Linked DNA regions of Homo sapiens: region 1 is linked to region 2. The links are contacts of gene promoters, found by promoter capture Hi-C in human tissues and cell types (Jung and others, 2019). All regions are on one chromosome and are shown on one strand. Each heading gives the region's core, a stretch centred on a gene start or on the middle of the fragment in contact. The rest is flanking DNA. Distances are from core to core; before and after follow the strand shown.

What was found. The method cuts DNA at HindIII sites, captures the fragments that hold promoters and counts their contacts. A contact is called where the count stands out against the background at its distance.
Region 1: a contact is called between a fragment that was not itself captured here and the fragment with the promoter of GPX2 in region 2, in 2 of the 25 tissues and cell types used here (mesenchymal stem cells and pancreas).

The regions. Positions count from the first base shown.
Region 1 is chr14:64,786,076-64,793,525 of GRCh38, forward strand. SPTB (spectrin beta, erythrocytic) reads right to left here. Exons shown (of 36, transcript NM_001355436.2): 14 at 6,922-7,450; 15 at 5,644-5,781; 16 at 329-1,085. Among named protein-coding and RNA genes, the nearest start is that of MIR7855, 4.1 kb to the left of the region's middle. The HindIII fragment of the contact is 5,305 bases long and covers 1,240-6,544 here.
Region 2 is chr14:64,937,524-64,944,397 of GRCh38, forward strand. GPX2 (glutathione peroxidase 2) reads right to left here and starts at 5,222. Exons shown (of 2, transcript NM_002083.4): 1 at 4,982-5,222; 2 at 1,635-2,315. The coding sequence starts at 5,203. The coding sequence ends at 1,965. All of the region lies in intron 3 of CHURC1-FNTB (CHURC1-FNTB readthrough), which reads left to right. The HindIII fragment of the contact is 8,107 bases long and covers 2,264-6,874 here.

The sequences.
Region 1 (7,450 bases), core at 2,642-5,141, 150 kb before region 2:
ACAGGGAGGAGGCACTACTCCCCAGGCCTTGCCCCCACCCCTACCCCAGGGGCACACAATAAACAGTGTGCCTAAAGCCACATGGAAGGCTAACCACCCAGGGCAAAATGCGCTTCTCTAGCCTCTGATAGACCCAAGAACAAGGCGTAGTTTGGGACACAAGGCTGGAAAAGGCCCCTAATGAGAAACAAAGATTTCCCCCATGAGTGAATACAGAGTACAAGACAAGAGTAATGTGGTCCCTGAGTCTTACAGCACATTTGTGGACTCACCACAAGAGCTACTGCCCTGAGAGACCCGCCTGTCCCAGCCCTGAATGCCTCTCTACCTGGTTGCTGAGGATGGCTTCAGCCTGCTTGGCATCTTTCTGGAACTCCTGGAAGCCAAGGCACTGAGCGAGGGTGTGGCTGCGGCTCTCCCACATCCTGCCCAGGGCATTCCAGCCAGTATCCAGGCCCTCCAGCCGCTGGCCCAGAAGCAGATACTCTGGGTCCGTCTGGCCTTGGATCACTTTCTCCCCAGACTCCTTAACACGCTGGTAGCTGTCTTGGTGCCCGTCAATCTCATCCTTGATACCTGCATGCTGCTGCAGGAGCTGCTCAGCCTCTGGGAGGGATTCGGGCATGTCCTCAGAGGCCACAGCCTTCTGGGTGATGGAGAGCCAGGCCTGGAAGTCATCCAGATCCTGCAGGAAGGCCTGCAGCTGGCTGACTTCCCCCAGCAAGTCCTCCTGGCCCTGCAGGGATTGCTGCAGGCCCTGCCACAGCTCCTCCAAGTGTTTTTGCCGCTGACCAATATCCTCCTTCTGCTCAGGGTGCGAGTCCATCAGCTGCTGGGACTCACGCTCCAGGGCATCCACACGGGCCTGGATGGCGGCCACGTCACGCTCCAGCCCTGACAACTTCCTCTGGATGGCGATGATACCTGCCAGGTCCCGCCCCAGGTCTTTTGTGGACTCCACTACCTTTGTCTTGTCCGTGATCCACTTGCTGGTCTCCTCGCAATCTACGCAGTAGTTGTGCACTCGGAGGGCTGAGTCCACAGCCTCCCGCCGCTCCGACACCAGGGTCTGAAATGCCTGCCACCTGCCGGATGGGGACACAGCCCGGAGGAGAGAGACACCTTCTCCCTTAGCTCTTCTTCCCATAGGAGACCCTGACCCCTTCCCACATTTCCCACAAGTCTCCCCCCACAGACTTTGTATGATAAAAAGAAAAAAAAAAATCTACCTAACGAAGTGTAGGTGAGCAAAATTCACTTCTCCAATTTTACTCAAGACATATATAACTGTCAATCAGATCTTTTGATCAGCAGGGGGCAATTAATTATGTGACTCCAACCATAAGTAAAGGAACATGAAAGCAAAGTCTATGCATGTAGTTGGAGTTCAGGCAAATATACAATTTCCCCAGAGTTTATGAAATATCAAAATAATTAAAAGGCTCACATTAACTTCAAGAATGCTTCAGGACATAGGGTCCCCAGCTGCCCTAGAGGAACCAAGTAAATGCCCAAGGCCACATGCAACGTCTCCTAGGGCCTGAAAGAGATCACCTTGGATCTAAGAGAAAAGATGCCCTGGTGAAAAAGAAGAGGAAGAAGAGGACAGGGAAGAAGAGAATGGGGAGGAATAAGTTGTGATGATAATTTAAGTGACTAGCATAATCTTAACCTTCGAGTGCAGTGTTGCTATGAAATACGGAAATGTGCTAAGGTCTGGCGGATGCCTGGGGGCCTGGGGTCAGTCTGCAGTACACGATAAGCCTCTTTCAAAGAGCTGCCCATCAGCCAGGCCAGACCACTAGGGACACTGCCCTTGGGCCTAGGTTCACTCATTCTGCATCACTGTAATATGCAGGCTGAATGCTCATTCTCTAATCGAACCCATCTTTCTCGAACACCCACAGGGGTATAAGCCATTTTATTGGCCTTTGGGAGAATATAGACATAACCAGACCATGCCCTGTGGGGTGTATGATTTAGAGAAATATTCAGACAAGCTCACAAATAACATAGCATAAAGTTTCATGTGCACAGCACCTAACAGGCAGAGAGGAGGATTAAGGCAGCTGGAAGGAGCAATGGGGTGACAGTTGCTCACGTGACCTCCACACAACCCATCACTGGACACAAAGCCCCAGTCAGTGAACACACCCCCAGTGCCTCCACTGGAGTGACCAATTAAAGGATGGGACCAAGTGTCTCATTCATCTTTGTACCCTGCCTCAGGGGATGGAGGCTGAGGGACTAGGAGATGGACTGGACAGAGAGCGCTGTTGTGCATTCCCAAGGTGTGACAACAGCAGCCAGTATGATTTGAAAGGTCTGCAGAGAGATATAAGAGACAGGCTGGGAGAGACCAGGGATACGAGAGAGGAGAGAGAGCCTGCAGATTTCTCGGCTCCCATCCTAGACCATGAAGACCCCGTGCTCTGGGAATTCCGTGCCTGTCTGGCACACAGATGGTGCTCTGAGGCTAGGAAATCAAGGGGTTTTCTCCAAGTTTGTTTGAAAGCCCTGGAATCGACAGGGAAGTGTTCCTGGGAGAGGGTCTGGCTGTGTCCCCAGGCAAGAGGCCCCATAGTGATTTTCCAGGCCTTTCCTGGAGTGGCCTCACTGTAGCCATTGGGTGGAGGCCACACCAAGATGCACTGGAGCTTGGGTCTAGTCTGCTTCCCAAACCTACACTTGCCCCCTCCACTGCACTGTCTTTGAGATGGAGGAGGTTGATAGAGCCACTCTAGTTATCACTGGTCAGGCAACATCAAGAGTCTAGGTTTGGTCCTGGGCCAGGTTTTTCTTCAACTGGAAAGCATACGGTGAAAGATGATCACACATTCATCAAGTGTTTGAATGACTCACACATAAGCTTGGCAGAAAAACCTTAGTTTTTTCCCAGTTCACTCATGTACTAAGCATTTATCAAGCAACTCTCAGTTGCCTTGTGGCAGACACTGACCTAGGCACTAGGGATATGACAAAGAACTATGCAGGCTGGGCTCAGTGGCTCACACCTGTAAATCACAGCAATTTGGGAGGCTGAGGCCGGAGGATCTCTTGAGCCCAGGAGTTCAAGACCAGCCTGAGAAACATAGTGAGACCTCATCTCTACAAAAAAAACAAAAAATTAGCTGGGTATAGTAGTGTGCATCTGTAGCATTAGCTACACAGGAGACTGAGATGGGAGAATCACTTGAGCCTGGGAGGCTGAGGCTGCAGTGAGCCAAAATTGTACCACTGCACTCCAGCCTGGGTAATGGAGTGAGATTCTGTCTCTATAAAAAATTAATTAATTAATTAATAAAGAGTAATGCAAAGTCCTTGCTTTCATTCAAGTGGATAGAGACATAAACAAGTCTATAATCCATCAAGTGGTGATAAGCGCAAAGAAAAAATAAAAGAAGGTAACAATATAGAGGCCAAGTGGGTCAGTGAGAGGAAGGATGTGCTGCTTTCCATGGGGCGGTCAGCGGGGGCCATGCCAGTAAGCTGACATTTGAGCTGAGACCTGAATAAAAAGAGTAAGCCAAGGGCATAGCTAGGAAAATAATACTCTAAACAGCAGGAACCCCAAAAATGTATTAGGTGTGCAAAGCCCTTGGGCAATATAAATAGATACAGGTCTTCATTTGTTTACATAGTCTAGCAGGAAAGTCCTTGGGGACAAAAATAATTAGAATGTAAGATAGGATATGAAGCTCAAAACCAGTACAAAGGAGGAAAAGATTGCTTTTCATCTGGAAAACTGGAAAGCAAGCGACTTGGACTGGCTCATGCAGAGACAGGATTTGGAATATGTAGAGGGAGGGAGAATGCACCCTGAGGGAAAGAACCGCAGAGGCATGAGGCGACACTGGGGGTGGAGGTATAGAATGAGCATTGTTCTGAAAAATAATTGAAGAGCTATACACGGAAGAGGAACCAGGGTAAGTGTGATATCTCTCAAGGGCAGAGCCAGAATCAATATGTACGCATTTCAAGGAGGCAGATTTCCACTCAATGGAAGAGCAAACTTTTTAACCAAAAAGAATTGCCCAAAAATGAGATAGGCTGCCGGGTGAGGGAGTGAGTTCCCCATCACTGGCTAGACTGGGTGACTTCTCAGGTTCCTTTCAACTCTCAAATTTAATTTCATGCCTCGGGTTTTTTTCTCACTTAAGGATGGCAGGTACCTTGATATTTTTCTCTTGGGGATGGGGCCTGTTTTAGGGGTCTGTAAAGATCAACATTCTCAGACTATAGTTTATTGTTGAGCTGATGAGTTCTTCCTCTCAGGAAGTTTCTCTGGTTTAGACCTGCTCTAGTTTCCTCAATTATGCAGCAATTGCAATAATCTCTACCACCTCCTGCCCACCAACACACACAAACTCATTACCTACAAGGCGAAAGAAGAGGGAAGAGGTATTCTCTTCCTTTGTAAAACATCAGATTGACAAAGGAATCTCCTAAACCGCACTCTGCAGCTTGGGCTGCTAAGACAATCATCCCATTCTAGTGGCTCTAAAGAATTCTGGTCATCGCTGCCTCCCCTTAGCCCCCCAGTGAACTCTCCACTGTGCCGATCCCTTTCTTTACAATGGAGTCTTCCCTAGGCCCACCTCCCAGATTGCCTCAGGCAGAGCAACGCTCAGGCACAGGTGTGGGGAAGGGGCTGGGGTAATGGGGAGGTGGTGAACATGTGGCATTGCATGTGCAGGGCCCACGGTAAAGACAGGGAATGCAGGCATTTGCGGTGTCCTCAAAGATCCTCCAGGAACTCATGGGCAATTTCACCCCACACTGAAAGCACCCCCTCTCTAAAGGCTCCTTGGGGCCTATTTTTTGTTCTGGCCACAAAGCTTGCTTAAGGCTCCCTGCTAATTCTCCTCTTCCTTCAAGCCAGCCTCATTATCGATACTGCATTTGGCAGAGGCAGGAGCATTATTTTATGGACAGTACTTAAGAGCTCTCAGAAAGCAATTTTCTCTGCCCAAGAATGTCCAGGGAAATATAGCATGAGAAGCATATGGCCTGATTCTAAGTTTGGGCACACTTGGGATGTGCCCTCCATCACACATACACACCCACCCTCCCCAGGCACAGCATTCGAGCCTCCCAGGACTCGTCTCTCTCCCTCCCTGGGCTGTTCACCACCTCAATCATTCCTCCTTGCTGCTATAGTTCCAGTACTACTGGGAAGGGGACTGTGGCTGAGACAGACAGGAATGTCGGTGGGGGCGCGGTGGCTTATGCCTGTAATCCCAGCACTTTGGGAGGCCGAGGTGGGCAGATCGCTTGAGGCCAGGAATGAGACCAGCCTGGCCAACGTGGTGAAACCACATCTCTACTAAAAATACAAAAACTAGCCAGGCATTGTATCGCACGCCTGTAATCCCAGCTACTTGGGAGGCTGAGGAACAAGAATAGCTTGAACCCAGGAGGTGGAAGTTGCAGTGAGCCGAGATCGCACCACTGCACTCCAGCCTGGGTAAAAGAGTGAGGTTCTGTGTCAAAAAAAAAAAAAAAAAAAAAAAAAAGACAGGAATGTTGAGGGTATAGAAGTGTTGGTGCATACTAGGTGGACTAAATTTTGGGCCCGGCCCCCAGCAGTGTGTCAGATGTTGAGAGACAATGCCCCCGCCCCATGCCCTACCCACACCCCACCTGGTGTTCAGATGGTCCTGGTACTGCTTCACCTCCCTGCTGCGTGGGTGGCCACTCTCTACCAAGCTGTTGGCAGCGAGGTTCACACCATCAATCTGAGTCATCAAGGTCTTCATCTCCTGGTCCAGGATGTCGAACCTGATATGGGCAAAGGAAAATATGAGGATGGGTGAGGCGGCAGCAGACATTTCCTTGCCAGTGGCACCCCCAGTCTCCAGAACATGTAGCTCTTGCTTTCTCCTTCCACTGCCTAAACCATTTGCCCAGGTGAGGCAGGAGGAAGAAAACAGATATGCTGGCCCTCCTTTCTGGTTCATGGGTTTGATTTCATGAGTTAGCATTGCCTGGAACAGGCCGGGAGAGAGCCAGTTACTTCCTACACGGGCTTCTGGCTCAAGAGAGACATATGAAGGGGAGGGAGGGCTGAAGAGAGGTTACTGTGTATTTGTGTGGGGGATGTCAATTGTCACAAGGGCCACCTTCCAGGCCTCTGCTTTTCCGGCTGTTGCTTTTGGACTCTGAGTCCAATGCCTTGACATCTTAACCCAAAAGATACCCTTTCCAGCCAGGTGCTCCATTCCTGGGTAAGATAAGGAAAAGCTGCTGGGGCGGTGGTCGGGGGGAATTTGTGGTTCTGAAGGCCGATCCTTCTAGGGTAAGAGCCCAGGACTCTCCAGCATCAGTGCAGCACCACCTTGGCACTGTTCCAGAGAGCGGCCTCTCCTTCTCCTGACTGCCTGAATTCTGTGCTTCAGCTGCTGAGATGCTGCACAGACTGGGGCATGCCTCATCATCTGGGGTGCTGACAAAATCAGAACACCAGGGGTGAGAGTGGCCTTGCAGACAGGGGGTTTGCAAATTCTCTCTGTGGCCCCTCAGAGTCTCCTGGCTTAAGGACTGCCACAGAAAGCTAGAGCTGGCAGGGTCCTGGCCTCTCAACCTCCTTCTCCAGAGTAGCTCCATTTTTCCTCTGTGTGACCTGGGGGTTCCATACACAATTCATCTGAGCAAAGACTGCTATTGCTGAAAAGTAATTGAATAACTGGACTAGATAAATTCCCTTTGTTTGAGGAACACAAGGCCCCAAAGGGTGAAGTACCCCAGGCCACAGAGCCAGAATAGAACTTATGACTCCTAATGCCAGGACTTTGCAACAAAGGACATCCCAGGGCCTCTCAAAGAGACCTTTGCTGATCCAGAGACTATTACCAAACTAGGTGGGAGATGGTGCCCAGGCCTGGGTACAGGGACGTGAGGAAAAGATGAGTTAACTCTGACCTGTGCTGCACGACCTCCAGGTCCTCCAGGGTGTCTGGCATTTCCATCTCGGCCAGCCACTTCTCCTTCTCTCCCATCCACAGCTCACAGGCGTCTGTCTCCCCGAACACCGTGTACAGGTCCAGGGCTTCCTGCAGCCTCTGCTGACGCAGGTCCGCCTGGGCCACCACCTGTTGGTAGAGCTCCCGCAGGGCCTGCAGCCGATGGGTCACATCTGGGGAATCCCGAAACTCTTCGGGGAATCCCTGGGCCTGCTGCTCCAGGTGCTCCATCACCCCACGGCTCTCCTCCAGCTCCTCCAGGAAGTCCTTGTGCTTTTTCCCCAGGGCCCGCGTGGCCCCTTCGTCCTGCCCCACATCTTCACCAGAGAGCAGCCGGTGGGCGTCTTGCAGCCAAGCCTTCAGGTCATCCGCATCGCCCTGGAACTGGAAAAAGTTCTCAGCATCCTGGAGGTTCTTCTTGCAGAAGGCAGCCAGGTCCTTCAGCTGGTCCCACTGTGCCGACACCTCCTTTATGCGGGCCTCGATCT
Region 2 (6,874 bases), core at 3,972-6,471:
TGCCCCATAATAATTCATACCCCAGCTGTTGACTTTAAGAGCAGGAATCTGAAAGGCTTGAGGTTTCAAGAGTGAAGGTAAGGGTAGCCTTAAGTTAGCAGAAGGCCCTGCAGAAAGGTGTCAGGGGATTCCCACTGTAATACTCAGGTTACCCTTTTGAAATAAAGCACTGTTGTTGACAGGTTTAGTTGAAGGTCAGAAAGTGGGGATCCTAAACATCTATTCCACATTCACTCTCATATGATGCAAGTGCTTAGAAAATGGTTAGGGTAAGCAGAACAATTAAAGGAAAAACATTTTCCCTTCAGCATTGGGCTTCTCAAGCAGTGTGTCCAGTTTGGAAAACTGTCCCTTCAGGGTTTCAGTGAATAGAAGTGAAAATATTCCATCTAGTGGTCAAAGAAGGGAAGATGAAATGAGAAGTTTCCAGGATGAGGTCTGTGGGGCAAGGTGACAGGCAGTGGCCTCTCAGCAGGTATCTTTTCCAGAACATGATAGAACCTGACCTTGGCGGTGGTGATATGTTTTGATTATGTCTGCACTGGATGAGGAATTGGGGACACCATCCTTGCAAGGCCTCTGAGCAAAACTGTCCTCACAGTGAGGAATAATGATGTTGCAAATGGCAGATTATAAACAGCCTGACTCTGAAGGGAGGCTCTCTCCCATCCCCAACCCCTTCCTTCTTACAGAGGAAGAAATGAGTCCAGTCATTCCTGCCTCTATTTGTCTGGAGCCTGAATTTGTGAATATGTGATTTTGAGAAGAATGAGGGTGTAATGTGAACTTTATTTATTTATTTTGAGACGGAGTCTCACTCTGTCGCCCAGGCTGGAGTGTAGTGGCGCCGCCATCTTGGCTCACTGCAGCCTCCACCTCCCGGGTTCAAATGAGTCTCTCACCTCAGCCTCCTGAGTAGCTGGGATTACAGGCGTGCGCCACCACACCTGGCTAATTTTTTGTATTTTTAGTACAGACAGAGTTTCATCATGTTGGCCAGGCTGGTCTCGAACTCCTGACCTCAAGTGATCCGCCTGTCTCGGCCTCTCAAAGTGCTGGGATTATAGGTGTGAGCCACCACACCCGGGCCATGAACTTTAAAAAGGAGGGAGAATCAGTCTAGCAAAGGATCAAACACCCGAGATGTTTGATGATCAGGAAAAAGATAAAGTGCTGTTTGTGTTCTCAGTAACTACACCCTCTATGCCCTTGCTATTGGTAAACATTAACTAAGCTGACTGCCCAGGAATTTCCCAAGGCACAAGTCAGATCTAGTTGGCCCAGTACCCACAGTGCTATTGATGCTTCCTGACTGTAATCCTCCTAACAGCCTCCCAATATCCCCAACCAAAGGGCTCATTGTCTTTTCCTCCTCTACCTCCCATTATCACTTTCTCTTTTTCCCCAGTTCTGAAGAAGAGCTGTAAAGGAATAATATAATTCACATTTCCCGTAACTGCACCTGCCACTGCAGACCTTGGCCAGCGCTTGCTTTCCTGTCAGTAATTAGGGCATCCCTTGATCCGTCAGATCCTCCCCTCCCAAAGCTTTGTGTGCTAGCAGCTCCTCTATCCCACCTGCAGTTTGTAGCTTCCCTCCGCCCTCTGTCAAAGAACACACACACAGGCTGGCCGTTTCCACACCTGCCCTTTATTGGTCTCTTCTAGCAGAGTGGCTCCAGGCCCTTCACGCCTCTCAGACACCACCCATGAGGGTTTAGGAAGGTGCCATCATTCTGTGAAGGCCCAGAGCTTACCCAAGTCTTGGAGCCCAAGTTGAATCACCAACCAGAGGGTTGGGAGAGGAAAAGGAAACAGGCAGAGGGGAAAGGCAAGGCTCTGCAGTGAAGGGGACTGATATCAAGGGAATGCTGAGGTCCAGCAGTGTCTCCTGAAGGCATGCTGCATCCTAAGGCTCCTCAGGACTGGATGGAGTAGGAGATCTGTGTGTTGAGCAGTTCACATCTATATGGCAACTTTAAGGAGGCGCTTGATGTCAGGCTCAATGTTGATGGTTGGGAAGGTGCGGCTGTAGCGTCGGAAGGGCTCTCCCTCCGGCCCTATGAGGAACTTCTCAAAGTTCCAGGCCACATCTGAGCGGCGCACAGGGCTCCAAATGATGAGCTTGGGATCGGTCATGAGGGAAAATGGGTCATCATAAGGGTAGGGGAGCTTGTCCTTCAGGTAGGCGAAGACAGGATGCTCGTTCTGCCCATTCACCTCACATTTTTGGACAAGGGTGAAGGTGGGCTGGTATCCACCCCCAGGACGGACATACTTGAGACTGTTCAGGATCTCCTCATTCTGACAGTTCTCCTAGGGGAGGAAAAAGACAAAGTGCGTGGACAGTGGGTGGGGGAAGAGAAAGATCCACAACATGAAACTCTTTCACCCTCCTACACTCCCTCCCCAGGGTCATTCTTTTTCACTGTGAAAGAGAGAGAGACAAGACAGACGAGGTGTTGCTCACTGCAGCCTTGAACTTCTGGGCTCAAGCATTCCTCCTGCTTCAGCCTCTTTAGTAGCTGAGACTACAGACACAGGCCACCATGCCCGGCTAATTTTTTTTTTTTTTTGTAGAGATGGGGTCTCACTTTGTTGCCCATGCTTTGGCTGCTCTTCAAGATTTAGCACTTCTGAGCTGTTGCTTTTGTCTCCAGTCTACCCTGAGCAGTTCTTAAGGTGTTTGAAGCAGAAGAAAGAGAAAAGAGGCTTAGGTTATACTGCTTAGAACCTCCTCTTCAACTAACCTACCGACCCACCTACCCATAAATCCATACCTACACACACACCCCTTTCCTTTCCTCTGCCCTGGTTTTGCCTCGCCTGCTTTCAATTGCACGTGTGTTGAGTATAGCCTTTGCCTCTGCCTACTCAGCTCCTTGAACTGAGGGTGAAATTGAGACCCAGAGGAATGGGATTTACAGCTTCTTGCTTTCTTCTTGCCTTGTCCTAGAACTGAAGTACAAATGGGAAGAAGCTTTGATGAAGGAAGACCCCCATCCAAGAACATCTAGTTTTCAGGTGCCATAACAGCAGAGCAAGTTCAAGGCAACAATGAATGTGTACTCTAAATGGAACTACTTAGTAACCAACAGGCATGAAGTAAATAGGATACAGGATTTAGGGTTTGGCAATAGGCCAGGGGGAGGGGGAGTTGAGGAAATAAGTGCTTGATGGCTAAAGATTGTGAGTATGTAATTATCATTCTTTTCTTGAGTAGGCTGCTACCCAAAGACTGCTGCACCTCCTATCCACTCACTGCTCTCAGCTACGCATGCTTTGGCTCAAAACCTGGTCCCTGCCTTTCCCTCCCCACTGCCATCCCTGTCCTATTCCCTCTCAGCATCACCATTCATGACAATCCAAAAGGCCTATGGGAACCCTTCTTTTCCACCTCTACCTTTCCAATTTAACAGACAGATACCTTCCTCTGGGAGAAAGTTCCTGCTTCTGACCTGTGAGAACTAACTAGTTCAGTCAGTTCCAGGCCATCATGACATCATGAGCCCAGAGCTGATCTCTAGTGGACTTCTCTGTTTTTGTTTCTGTTTTTTTTCCTGAGACAGGGCCTCACTCTGTCACCTAGGCTGGGGTGCGGTGGCACAATCATAGCTCACTGCAGCCTCGACTTCCCAGGCTCAGGCGATCCTGCTACTTCAGCGTCCCAAGTAGCTGTGACTACAGGCACATGCCACCATGCCTGGCTAATTTTTGCAATTTTTTGTAGAAACAAGGTTTCACCATGTTGCTCAGGCTAATCTTGAACTCCTGAGCTCAAGCAATCTGCCTACCTTAGCCTCCCAAAGCGCTGGGATTATAGGTGTGAGCCACTGTACCCTGGCAGATTTCTATTTCTTGATACAAATGGCTGGCTGGCTCCTGGTAGGTTATAGACTCCCTCCAGCAACTTGCTAGGCTGAAGAGATGGTGTGAGGCTGGAGGTACTTCTGGGGCTGGAGGGACATCTCGAAAGAGGGTTTGCTACTTCTGTCTCTCCTGCTCTAGAAAAGGCCAGACAGAAAACTTAGGGAAGAACAGTGAGAGCAGTGAACAGTTTGGGCTCAGGTTTGTCACAGCCAGTGATGCTTCAGCCTTCCTGCTTTCCTGTCTTCCTCACCTTCATACCACTGTGAATTGAACTAAGGGGATTATAACGAGAGGGTTCGCTTGGGTTCATTCTCCCTGCTTGTACGTTAAAATCATAGGTGGAAATAGAAGAATCCCTAAAAGAGAACTCGAGGTGTGTGGGCTGAAGATCTATAACAGCTTGACCCATTAATCAGAAATAGGTGCATGTAATGCCCAGAGGCACGTGCCTTTTGAAAACCTTTCTCTTTCCTGCTTATTTTCTTTCCACTTGGCTAATTTAAACCAACAAAAATCATCCTCAATCTAAATAACAGTTTGCTTGCATTTGCATAGTACTTTATATTTTTCAAGTTACTTTTGTATATCCTGTCCCCTAAACATCATAATAATCCTATGAGCTAAGTGGTATTATCCCCAATTTACAGATGAGGAAACTAAACCGAAAAATGAAGCGCCCTTTCCGAGGGCACAGAGCCATTAAATAGCAAAACCAAGTCCAGCTAGAGCTAAGGTCTCTTGAGTCTGTCCAATTCTTGTTTGATTCCTGGCCTCTACTTTCTCCACTCATTTATTCAACAAATATTTAATGAGTGCTTTCTGTGCCCTAGGCACTGAGGACACAGTGGAGAGAAACACAGACCTGGAACCAGCCCTCATGGAGTAATATAGTAGAAAGACAGTAAACTATAAAAATCACACAGCCTCAGTGTTTAATCTTAAAAAATATATACCTTCTCTTGGTATGTCACATGCACCTAAAGACCTAGCTTAACAAAACATACCCCATTATTCCAGACACTCCAAAACATGGTCATTCAGCCTCTCCTTTTATCCCACCTGAGCTACACCAACCCAACACTTTTGGTGCATTACAAGGAGGGACCCCTCACCTGATGTCCAAATTGGTTGCAAGGGAAGCCAAGGACCACCAGGCGCCTGGGAAAGCGGCATTGCAGCTCGTTGAGCTGGGTGAAGTCCCGGGTGGTTGTGCCTCAGAGCGAAGCCACATTCTCAATCAGCACGGCCCTGCCCCGGAACGTATTGAAATCTACCTTCTCCCCATCCAGGCTGATGGCACTGAGGTCATAGAAGGACTTGGCAATGAAAGCCATGGTGAAGCGCAGAGTGAGCCCCGCAGAGAGGCCTGAGCCCACTTATGAGCCTATTAGAGGGGTGGGGAGGAAGGAGGAGCCAGGAAGGAGGACAGAAAGGATCTAACAATGGAGCTTTGAGCATCCCCAGGATGACTTAGCAAAAACAGGTCCCCACCTGTAAGTGCTGTTTGAACAAGGAGGTTGCTCCTCCTATTAACAGACTGAACAAGGCCGCCTCCCCGCCCCACCCTGCTGCAACCTGGGAAGGGCCAATTTGATATCTATGAGCAGAGGTAAATAATTCACTGCTTACAGGAAACCAGAGCCCTAAAGGTCGAATGGAGAGGAAAAAAAGGGAGGGAGGGATGCAGGATTGACTCCTACTTGCCCCATCAAGTTGTTCTCATTTGACACAGACGTTTATTGAATGCCTGCTGAGTGTCAATCTCTGAATTGTACAGTGAGAGGGCAGGGTCTGCGGAGATCTGAAAGATGAAGAAGAGAATTGAGCCTCCTATCCATGGGACTCAGATGACAACTGAAATATACATATTCCTGTTCACGTTCTTCTCTTTGTTGCTTTCCACCAGGACAAAATCAAAGGGACCCTTAGGAGGAGAGTGTGTCATTTTCTAGGGGAAAAAAGAAGTTTTCAGTGCCTCAGCTCTTGCCAGGCTGAAGAGACAAAGTTGTGTTTATCTTGAAAAGTCTTTCAGTGCGTGGTGCCACTTGTCCTGGAGAACACACCAGCCTCTGCCCCTGCACTGTACCATCTCCTATATTATATCCCCCACCTCCACCTCATCCCCCAGCCCCCAAGTCATGAGGCTCAGTCGTTGCTGGGAGAATGGTGAAGAGGAGTCACAGAACAGGTGGATAAACTTAGTGGATGAACTGCACCTACCTTCCTCTCAGACAGAGATTTGGTCCCCAAGACTTTTCAGAGCGGGTTTGTGCTGGTCACCTTCCCACAGAAGGAAGTGTGTGGAGGAAGTTGAAGCTGCTGTGGTTCCAGACGCAGGCAGGTCACCCCTGATGCTTTCAACAAGAGGCGTGCAGTGCATCGCAGGACATCTGCTAAGGGCCATCTCAGAGGCCCACCCCTGGAAGCCACAGAAACCGAAAAGACCCAAGCACCCGCCAACTCAACAAGTTACTCTTTTAAAAATGCCTTGATTTCTTCATCAGTAAAACTAGCAATGGGGCTTGACCTAGCTTTGGGATTTTAGAGTGAAATTTCAATAACAAAGCAAATGTTTACTAGGGTGTTTTCACAGGGGCACATCCATTGGGAACTGTCTCCTTGGAACAAAGAATAAGCAAGTCCGGGGAGCAGCTGGTCTTGAGAATCTGATTTGTTGAGATGAGATGAAGTAATTATCACCAGGGAGCGCCAAGCTGCCTTGCAGCTTTTCCATGGCTGTTCAAGTATACAGGGACCATGTGTCTCAGCTGGCTGCTCCCTAAAAACAAGTTTCCATTACCTAAGTGGACAGAAGGAGTGACAGGAAGTGTAGAGGGAAGTGTGTCCCCTGCTGAAGCTGGGTGGAGTTCCTAGAAGCAACCAATAAGAAAGAGTCCCCACCAAGCCACTGAGTCACAAGGACTTGGCACTGATAGTGGGCAGAACTGTAACTTGCCGGATTTATGTGCATACCTAGAGCTTCCCCCTAGTACTCTCTGGGCCTC